Regions from separate parts of the Homo sapiens genome. Here regions 1 and 3 are each linked to region 2. The links are contacts of gene promoters, found by promoter capture Hi-C in human tissues and cell types (Jung and others, 2019). All regions are on one chromosome and are shown on one strand. The core of a region is centred on a gene start or on the middle of the fragment in contact, and the rest is flanking DNA. Distances in the headings are between cores, read along the strand shown. Region 1 overlaps NCOA6 (nuclear receptor coactivator 6). Region 2 holds the start of CDK5RAP1 (CDK5RAP1 mitochondrial tRNA methylthiotransferase). Region 3 overlaps TM9SF4 (transmembrane 9 superfamily member 4).

Region 1 (2,700 bases), core at 187-2,686, 1.4 Mb after region 2:
GAAAATACTATAAAAATTAAGAAATTACAGAGAAGATAAGCTATTTTAATTATGACATTCTAAAACAATTAGTTCTTACAGTTACCAAAAATAAAAATACACTAGTCTTAAATTTAACATTCTTTTTATTATGTTATATGCTACTTTTTTATAAGCTAGAATGTCAGGAGAAGGGAAGAAAGGATCACAAGAAAATAAAACAAGTACATACTTTTTGAGAATTATAGGCCTTTGGTTGACCCCACAGAGCAAGGGGCTCCCCAAGACTCCCCCTACTTCTGTCTTGACAAAAGCTTAAAAGGAGCCAAGGTTTCTAAAGCCTTCTTCTTTCTCCAAACTACAAAGCACAACCAGACCTGACTAATAGCAACTGGATGATTACCTAAAATTCTGAAGTCTTTCATGAACCATTTTAAACAACTATTAAAGGGTTATTAACAGTGGAATGGCTGAAAATAATGATTCTGAAATAAACACTTAAAAATTCTTATATGAAAGGGCTGGGCGCAGTGGCTCACACCTGTAATCCCAGCACTTTGGGAGGTCAAGGTGGGCAGATCACTTGAGGTCAGGAGTTTGAGACCAGCCTGGCCAACATAATGAAACCCTGCCACTACTAAAACACAAAAATAAGCTGGACATGGTGGTGTATGCCTGTAATCCCAGCTACTAGGGAGGCTGAGGCAGGAGAATTGCTTGAATCCAGGAGGGTGGAGGTTGAAGGGAGCCGAGGTTGCGTCACTGCACTCCAGCCTGGGCAACAGAGCAAGACTCCGTCTCAAAAAAAAAAGGGGGTTGATATGGACAGGTAATCTTTATGGAGGTAAAGAACTGTGTTCCGGACAGAATTAAATTGCTTCCTAAATTTTAGATATAAAGAAGTTACATTTTCTGCTATCTTCAGGTATGCTGCTTACCAAAGAGTACATGTATTAAAGATCACACAGTGTGGCCATTTCCTCTGTTAGTTTGGGGATTGAAGATCACATACTTAACCCAAAAGTAAATGAATGAACATTAATTTTCAGCATTTGCGGTAAGCAAAAATGGCATGGAAACCTAAGAACCTCCCACAAATGTTCTAATAAAATAATTCCTTATAATTTTAACTATAATACAACATTGATTGATTGATTGATTGAGACAGAGTCTCACTTTTTTGCCCAGGCTGCACTGCGGTGGCACAATTCGGCTCACTGCAACCTCCACCTCCCAGGTTCAAGCAATTCTCCTGCCTCAGCCTCCCGAGTAGCTGGGACTACAGGCAAGCACCATCATGCCTGGCTAATCTTTTGTAGTTTTAGTAGAGATGGGGTTTTGCCATGTTGCCCAGGCTGGTCTTGAACTTCTGAGCTCAAGCAAGCCATTCACCTTGGCCTCCCAAAGTGCTAGAATTACAGGCGTGAGCCACCTTTTATTTATTTATGGCACTTATTTATTTATGGCACATGTCCAGCCTTTATTTATGGCACTTATTTATATTATTAAAGTATTACGAATTATTACTTTATACTTATAACTATAATTACAAGTTTCTTAAAAAAAAGATGGATAAGAAAATTAATCCCCTAAAAAGCAACTATATTAGGTTGGTAGGATCATTGATAAATTTTATTTTCCTATTTTCCAAATATGCTGCAAATCATTAGGAAATACAAAACTGCTGTAATATGGTTATATTCCTTGCATAAATGAAAAAAAGTAACTCAAACACCGTTTAACTTTTTTTTTTTTAATTTATTTTTTTGAGACACGGTCTTTCTCTGTTGCTGGAATGTAGTGGCAAAAACATGGCTCACTGCAGCCTCAACCTCCTGGGCTCAAGTGATCCTCTCGCCTCAGCTTCCCAAGCAGCTGGGGTTACAGGCGTGTACCACCGTGCCCAGCTAATTTTTAAAATTTTTTGCAGAGATTGGATCTTGCCATATTGCCCAGGCTGGTCTCAAACTCTTAGGCTCAGGTGATCCTCCCACCTTGGCCTCCCAAAGTGCTGGGATTACAGGCATGAGCTACCATGTCCAACCAATTTTTCTTTTTTAAATAGTGAGGCTGGTGGATGGCTTGAGGGCAGCGATTTAAGACCAGCCTGGGCAACACTGTGAGACCTTGTCTCTACAAAAAATAAAAAAATTAACTGGGTGTGGTGGTGCATGCCTATAGCCCCAGCTACTCAGGAGGCTGAGGCGGGAGGATCCCTCAAACCCAGGAGTTCGAGGCAGCAGTGAGCTACGATAGTGCCACTGCATTCCAGTATGGGTGATAGCAACATTTTTGTCTCTAAAAATAAAAATAAAATAGGCTGGGCGCGGTGGCTCATGTCTGTAATCCCAGCACTTTAGGCGGCTGAGGTGGGCAGATCACCTGAGGTCAGGATTTCGAGACCAGCCTGGTCAACATGGTGAAACCCCGTCTTTACTGAAAATAGAAAAATTAGCTGGGCATGGTAGCAGGCGCCTATAATCCCAGCTACTTGGGAGGCTGAGGCAGGAGAATCACTTGAACCCTGGAGGCGGAGGCTGCAGTGAGCTGAGATCGCACCACTGCACTCCAGCCTAGGGGACAAGAGCAAGACTTCATCTCAAAAATAAATAAATAAAATAAAATAAAAAAATTACTACTGACTAAACTTCAACAGCAAAGGCTTTCCAAAAACCAACCTAAGCAATCCTTGGGGGAAAAATTCTTCTGTTATAAGTAAAT
Region 2 (2,700 bases), core at 4-2,503:
TATACACGTGTAAAGAGCAGATGTGGCCCATTACCTTTCCAATGAGATGACCTGCCACATCTGCTACTAGCACTTAGGAGCAATGCCAACCCAGTTTCAAGAGTCAGAGAAGAACAGCCTTAAAGTGTGAACTTTAAAATCGCCCCTTTCTACTCCATAATTGCTGTGTGACCTTTGGCAAGACAAATTTCTGTCTCTGAGCCGCCAATTCCACATGTGTAAAATAAGGATAAAAGCAGCACCTACCACCCCATAAGTGTTATTAAGAATAAGATATTAAAAACCCAACTTGAGATACAGTAAGCGTTCACTAACTGCACATTTACAGCCCACACCCCCTTTCACAGAGAGTATTAGAGCATCCTGGTTAAGAGTATGAACTCCACTAAAAATACAAAACTTAGCCGGGTGTGGTGGTATGCGCCTGTAATCCTAGCTACCCAGGAGGCTGAGGCAGGAGAATCGCTGGAACTCGCGGGGCAGGGGCTACAGTGAGCCGAGATCGCGTCACTGCACTCCAGCCTGGGCGACAGAGCAAGACTCCCGTCTCAAGAAAAAAAAAGTATGGACCCTGGAGTCAGAATCTGACCCCACTGCTGCCAAGCCAGCTAAACCTTAGGCACCTGTCTTAAACTCTGGGAGCCTCTAGATGGGGATAATAGCACCTATCTCCATAAGCCTACCGTAGGATCAAATGCAATAATACAAGCAAAATGCTTTGCATAACGCAATGTAGAAGCCTCTCTGGAGGCTCGAAATTAATTCTGACAGTCGGCAATGAGGCTGGAACAACAGCGTACAACATCCCAAACATTTTATTGGCTGGTTACAATGCGTTAGGCATGGTGCAAAGCATTTTCCGCGAATTATTACCTATAACCCTCATAGCAACCCTGTGAGGCAGGCTGTACTGTCAACCCCACTTCACGGGTGGCGAAGCGAAGCCTTGAAAGAAGTGGAGGTGACCTGTCCAAGGTCACACGGGGTTAGGCGGCGGGGTTAGGGTACGAACCCCTACAGCCTGACGCCAGGCCCCACGCCATAACCACCGTGCCATCCTCCCTCTTGAACACCGTGCGCTTCCCGGGATCCGCGGCCCCTCCTGCCCCAGGCGCCAGTCAAAAGCGGGTGCGCAGCCCACCCCGGCGGCCGCGCTGCTCACCTCCCGCAGCAGCAACAGTGCCCGGGGTCCCGCAGCGTAAGTTCTGCCGGCAAGTCGGATCCCCTCACAGGTCCGCCGCTGCGTTCATACACAAGCGACTTCCGTTCCGCCGCTACTTCAGGCCGGGTCATGCTAACGGAAGTGCTTCCTTTTTACAGTCCGGGTGGACCCAAAGCTCCGTGGCGGTGCTGAACTTTAGGGCAGCCACTAGCCACGGACTTAAGCGGCAATTGAGCTCCTCAAAGTGGGTGAGTGCAAATCAAATGTGCGCTAAATGTCAGATACACTGGATGTGGAAGAAGAAATGTCAAATAGTGTCAAATAGTTCATATATATAATGTTTATATTGATTATGTGCTGCAATAATTGTTGGGATATATTGGATTAAATAAGTACATTTGTTGAATTAGTTTTTTTTATTTGTAGCTATGGTGGTAGAAATATTTGAATTAAGTTCACCTGTTGTTTCTTTTTACTTTTTCAATGTGGCTAGCAGGGGGAAAAATAATATGGTGTGATCATGGCTCACTGCAGCTTCCGCCTCCCATGCTAAAGCAATCCTCCCACCTCACACTCCCAAGTGGCTGGGACTACAGGCAGGCGCCACCACGCCCAGCTAAAATTTTTTTAATTTTTTTGTAGAGACCGGTCTCCCCATGTTGCCCAGGCTGGTCTCAAACTCCTACCTAGGCGCAAGCCATCCTCCCACCTTGGCCTCCCAAAGTGCTGGGATTGTAGGCATGAGCCACCGTGTCCGGTCCTTACTGGGAAATTTTAAGTCACCTAAGAGGTTCACGCTCTATTTCTATTGGAGGGTGCTGCCCTGTAGGTTAATGACTTCCTGATTCACATCTCCAGCTGGACCCTCCCTGCAGTACCAGAGCCATAGCTCAGCTGCCTACTTGACACCCCTTCTTGAGTGTCTGATGACCATCTCTAACTTATACAGAACTCTTCATTTCCACACATGCACCTTCACCAAAAACCTGTACCTGTCATTCTGGCCCATCTCAGTAAATGGCCCAACCATCCTTCCAGGTGCACTAGGAGGAACTGAATGGTCATTTTCTTCACCTCCCTGGATCCCCACATTCTATCTGTCAGTAAGCCCTGTCAACTCTAACTCCAAAATGTCAAATCTGTCTACTCGGTAGCTACAACTACCCAGGCCACCATTGTCTCATCAGAAACAATCACAGTAGCCTGCTAATGGTCACCTTGTCTCCTGAGAACAGTTTCCCACACATAGCCTAAGGGAATTTGTGTTTGTTTTATTAAATCAAATTATATCACCCCTCTCCTGAAAACTCTCCGTGGCAGGCCGGGCGTGGTGGCTCACATCTGTAATCCCAGCACTTTGGGAGGCCAAGATGGGCAGATTGCTTGAGCCCAGGAGTTCTAGACTAGCCTGAGCAACATGATAAAACCCCATCTCTACAAAAAACACAAAAATTACCCCGGCATGGTGGTGGGTACCTGTGGTCCCAGCTACTCAGAAGGCTGAGGCAGGGAGGATTGCTTGAGCCAGGGAAGTTGAG
Region 3 (2,700 bases), core at 162-2,661, 1.3 Mb before region 2:
CAGTAGGGGCGGCCGGGCAGAGGCGCCCCTCACCTCCTGGACGGGGCGGCTGGCCGGGCGGGGGGCTGAACCCCCCACCTCCCTCCCGGACGGGGCGGCTGGCCGGGCGGGGGGCTGACCCCCCCACCTCCCTCCCGGACGGGGCGGCTGGCCGGGCGGGGGGCTGACCCCCCCCAGCTCCCTCCCGGACGGGGCGGCTGGCAGGGCGGGGGGCTGACCCCCCCACCTCCCTCCCGGACAGGGTGGCTGGCCGGGCGGGGGGCTGACCCCCCCACCTCCCTCCGGGACGGGGCAGCTGGCCAGGCAGAGGGGCTCCTCACTTCCCAGTAGGGGCGGCCGGGCAGAGGCGCCCCTCACCTCCCAGACGGGGCAGCTGGCCGGGCGGGGGGGGTGACCCCCCCACCTCCCTCCCGGACGGGGCGGCTGGCCGGGCCGGGGGCTGATGCCCCCACCTCCCTCCCGGACGGGGCGGCTGGCCTGGCGGGGGGCTGACCCCCCACCTCCCTCCCGGACGGGGCGGCTGGCCTGGCGGGGGGCTGACCCCCCCCACCTCCCTCCCGGACGGGGTGGCTGCCGGGCGGAGATGCTCCTCACTTCCCAGACGGGGTGGCTGCCGGGCGGAGAGGCTCCTCACTTCTCAGACGGGGGTGCTGCCGGGCGGAGAGGCTCCTCACTTCTCATACGGGGCGGCTGCCGGGCGGAGGGTCTCCTCACTTCTCAGACGGGGCGGCCGGGCAGAGACGCTCCTCACCTCCCAGACGGGGTGGCGGCCGGGCAGAGGCGCTCCTCACATCCCAGACGATGGGCGGCTGGGCAGAGACGCTCCTCACTTCCTAGATGTGATGGCGTCCGGGAAGAGGCGCTCCTCACTTCCCAGATGGGATGGCGGCCGGGCAGAGACGCTCCTCACTTTCCAGACTGGGCAGCCAGGCAGAGGGGCTCCTCACATCCCAGACGATGGGTGGCCAGGCAAAGATGCTCCTCACTTCCCAGACGGGGTGGCGGCTGGGCAGAGGCTGCAATCTCGGCACTTTGGGAGGCCAAGACAGGCGGCTGGGAGGTGGAGGTTGTAGCGAGCCGAGATCACGCCACTTCACTCCAGCCTGGGCGCCATTGAGCACTGAGTGAACCAGACTCCGTCTGCAATCCCGGCACCTCGGGAGGCCGAGGCTGGTAGATCACTCGCGGTTAGGAGCTGGAGACCAGCCCGGCCAACACAGCGAAACCCCGTCTCCACCAAAAAAATACGAAAACCAGTCAGGCGTGGCGGCGTGCGCCTGCAATTGCAGGCACTCCGCAGGCTGAGGCAGGAGAATCAGGCAGGGAGGTTGCAGTGAGCCGAGATGGCAGCAGTATAGTCCAGCTTCGGCTCGGCATGAGAGGGAGACCATGAGGAGAGGGAGAGGGGGAGGGGGGGAGGGGGAGAGGGGGAGGGGGGAGGGGGAGGGGGGAGGGGGAGAGGGAGAGGGAGAGGCTTTTTTTTTTCTACGTAATAGCTTATGTTGGCAGTACTTCAGTAACAGTTCTACCTTCTATGTAAGTATATATCACTAAATTACCCTCCCTAAAGACTGTACCAGTTTACCTACATCTAGGCTAATCATACTTTTTAAAGCTTTATAACTCTGTTAAGCAAAAAATGAGATATTATTTTGACCTACAGTTTTTAAATTATGAATGATGCTGAGCATCTTTTTGTGTTTGGCCATTTGAGCTTTTTTTTTTAACTGCCCATTCGTATTTCTTTTGGATTATTTGTCCTTTATCAGTTTCTAAGTGTCCTTGTATATTGAAGAAAGTAGTTCTTGGTCAAGTATGTTAAATGTTTTTACCTAAACTCTTTTTCTTTCTCTTTGGTGTATTTTTTCATTTTTTTCCCTTATACATTTATATATACATTTTCTTTATACCTTCTGGATTTTGCTTTATTCTTAGGAAACTTTCCATGAAGATTATTTAAAAGCATATCCATATTTTCTTCTAATACTTCTATTTTAATTATACTTGTAAGTCTTTTATGTTCTTTTCACCAGTATCAAACACTTTGGATAGCTCTCTAGCTCACGTGTTCTCTCTCTCATATATATATATATATATATATTTTTTTTTTTAAAGAGATAGGGTCTCCCTCTGTCATCTGTGCTAGAGTGCAGTGGCACAATCATAGCTCGCTGCAACCTCAAACTCCTGAACTCAAGTGATCCTCCTGCCTCAGCCTCCCAAGTAGCTAGGTCTGCAAGCCCACTTCACCATACCCAACTAATTTTTAAATAATTTTGTAGAGACAAGGTCTCACTATTTTGTCCAGGCTGTTCTCAAACTCCCATCTGTCCTCAAGTGATTCTCCTGCCGAAGTGCTGGGATTGCAGGTGTGAGCCTCCATGCCTGGCCTGGGTAGGTCTACATTTTAATGTTTAGTAAAACTAGCCTGCCTTCATTATTTCTCTTTTCAAAATCATCCCGAAGTAACGGACAAATACCAAATTGACTACAATGGTTTGTTAAAAGAAAGGCTTTGAATTGGGGGAGAGACAAGTGAGACAAACAATCAGAGGAAAATAATTGGAAAGGGATGGTCAAAGGAGAAAAATAAGCAGTTCATCTGTGGCAGTACAGTTCTTCTTGAACACCTCTAATCGTGACCTCAAACTGTCCCTAAGCATGGTTCCCAGCCTGGTGATAGACCTCTGTTCACTTGGC

What was found. The method cuts DNA at HindIII sites, captures the fragments that hold promoters and counts their contacts. A contact is called where the count stands out against the background at its distance.
Region 1: a contact is called between a fragment that was not itself captured here and the fragment with the promoter of CDK5RAP1 in region 2, in 1 of the 25 tissues and cell types used here (small bowel).
Region 3: a fragment that was not itself captured here is called in contact with the fragment with the promoter of CDK5RAP1 in region 2 in 1 of the 25 tissues and cell types used here (pancreas).

The regions. Positions count from the first base shown.
Region 1 is chr20:34,782,502-34,785,201 of GRCh38, forward strand. All of the region lies in intron 2 of NCOA6 (nuclear receptor coactivator 6), which reads right to left. Among named protein-coding and RNA genes, the nearest start is that of NCOA6, 42 kb to the right of the region's middle. The HindIII fragment of the contact is 4,070 bases long and covers 1-2,700 here.
Region 2 is chr20:33,400,266-33,402,965 of GRCh38, forward strand. CDK5RAP1 (CDK5RAP1 mitochondrial tRNA methylthiotransferase) reads right to left here and starts at 1,254. Exons shown (of 14, transcript NM_016408.4): 1 at 1,163-1,254. It overlaps LOC124904889 (a long non-coding RNA gene), which reads left to right and starts at 1,317. Exons shown (of 2, transcript XR_007067567.1): 1 at 1,317-1,410. RefSeq lists enhancers at 965-1,054, 1,195-1,394. The HindIII fragment of the contact is 17,720 bases long and covers 1-2,700 here.
Region 3 is chr20:32,121,767-32,124,466 of GRCh38, forward strand. The region is part of intron 1 of TM9SF4 (transmembrane 9 superfamily member 4); the gene reads left to right. Among named protein-coding and RNA genes, the nearest start is that of TM9SF4, 13 kb to the left of the region's middle. RefSeq lists an enhancer at 1-265. The HindIII fragment of the contact is 6,207 bases long and covers 1-2,700 here.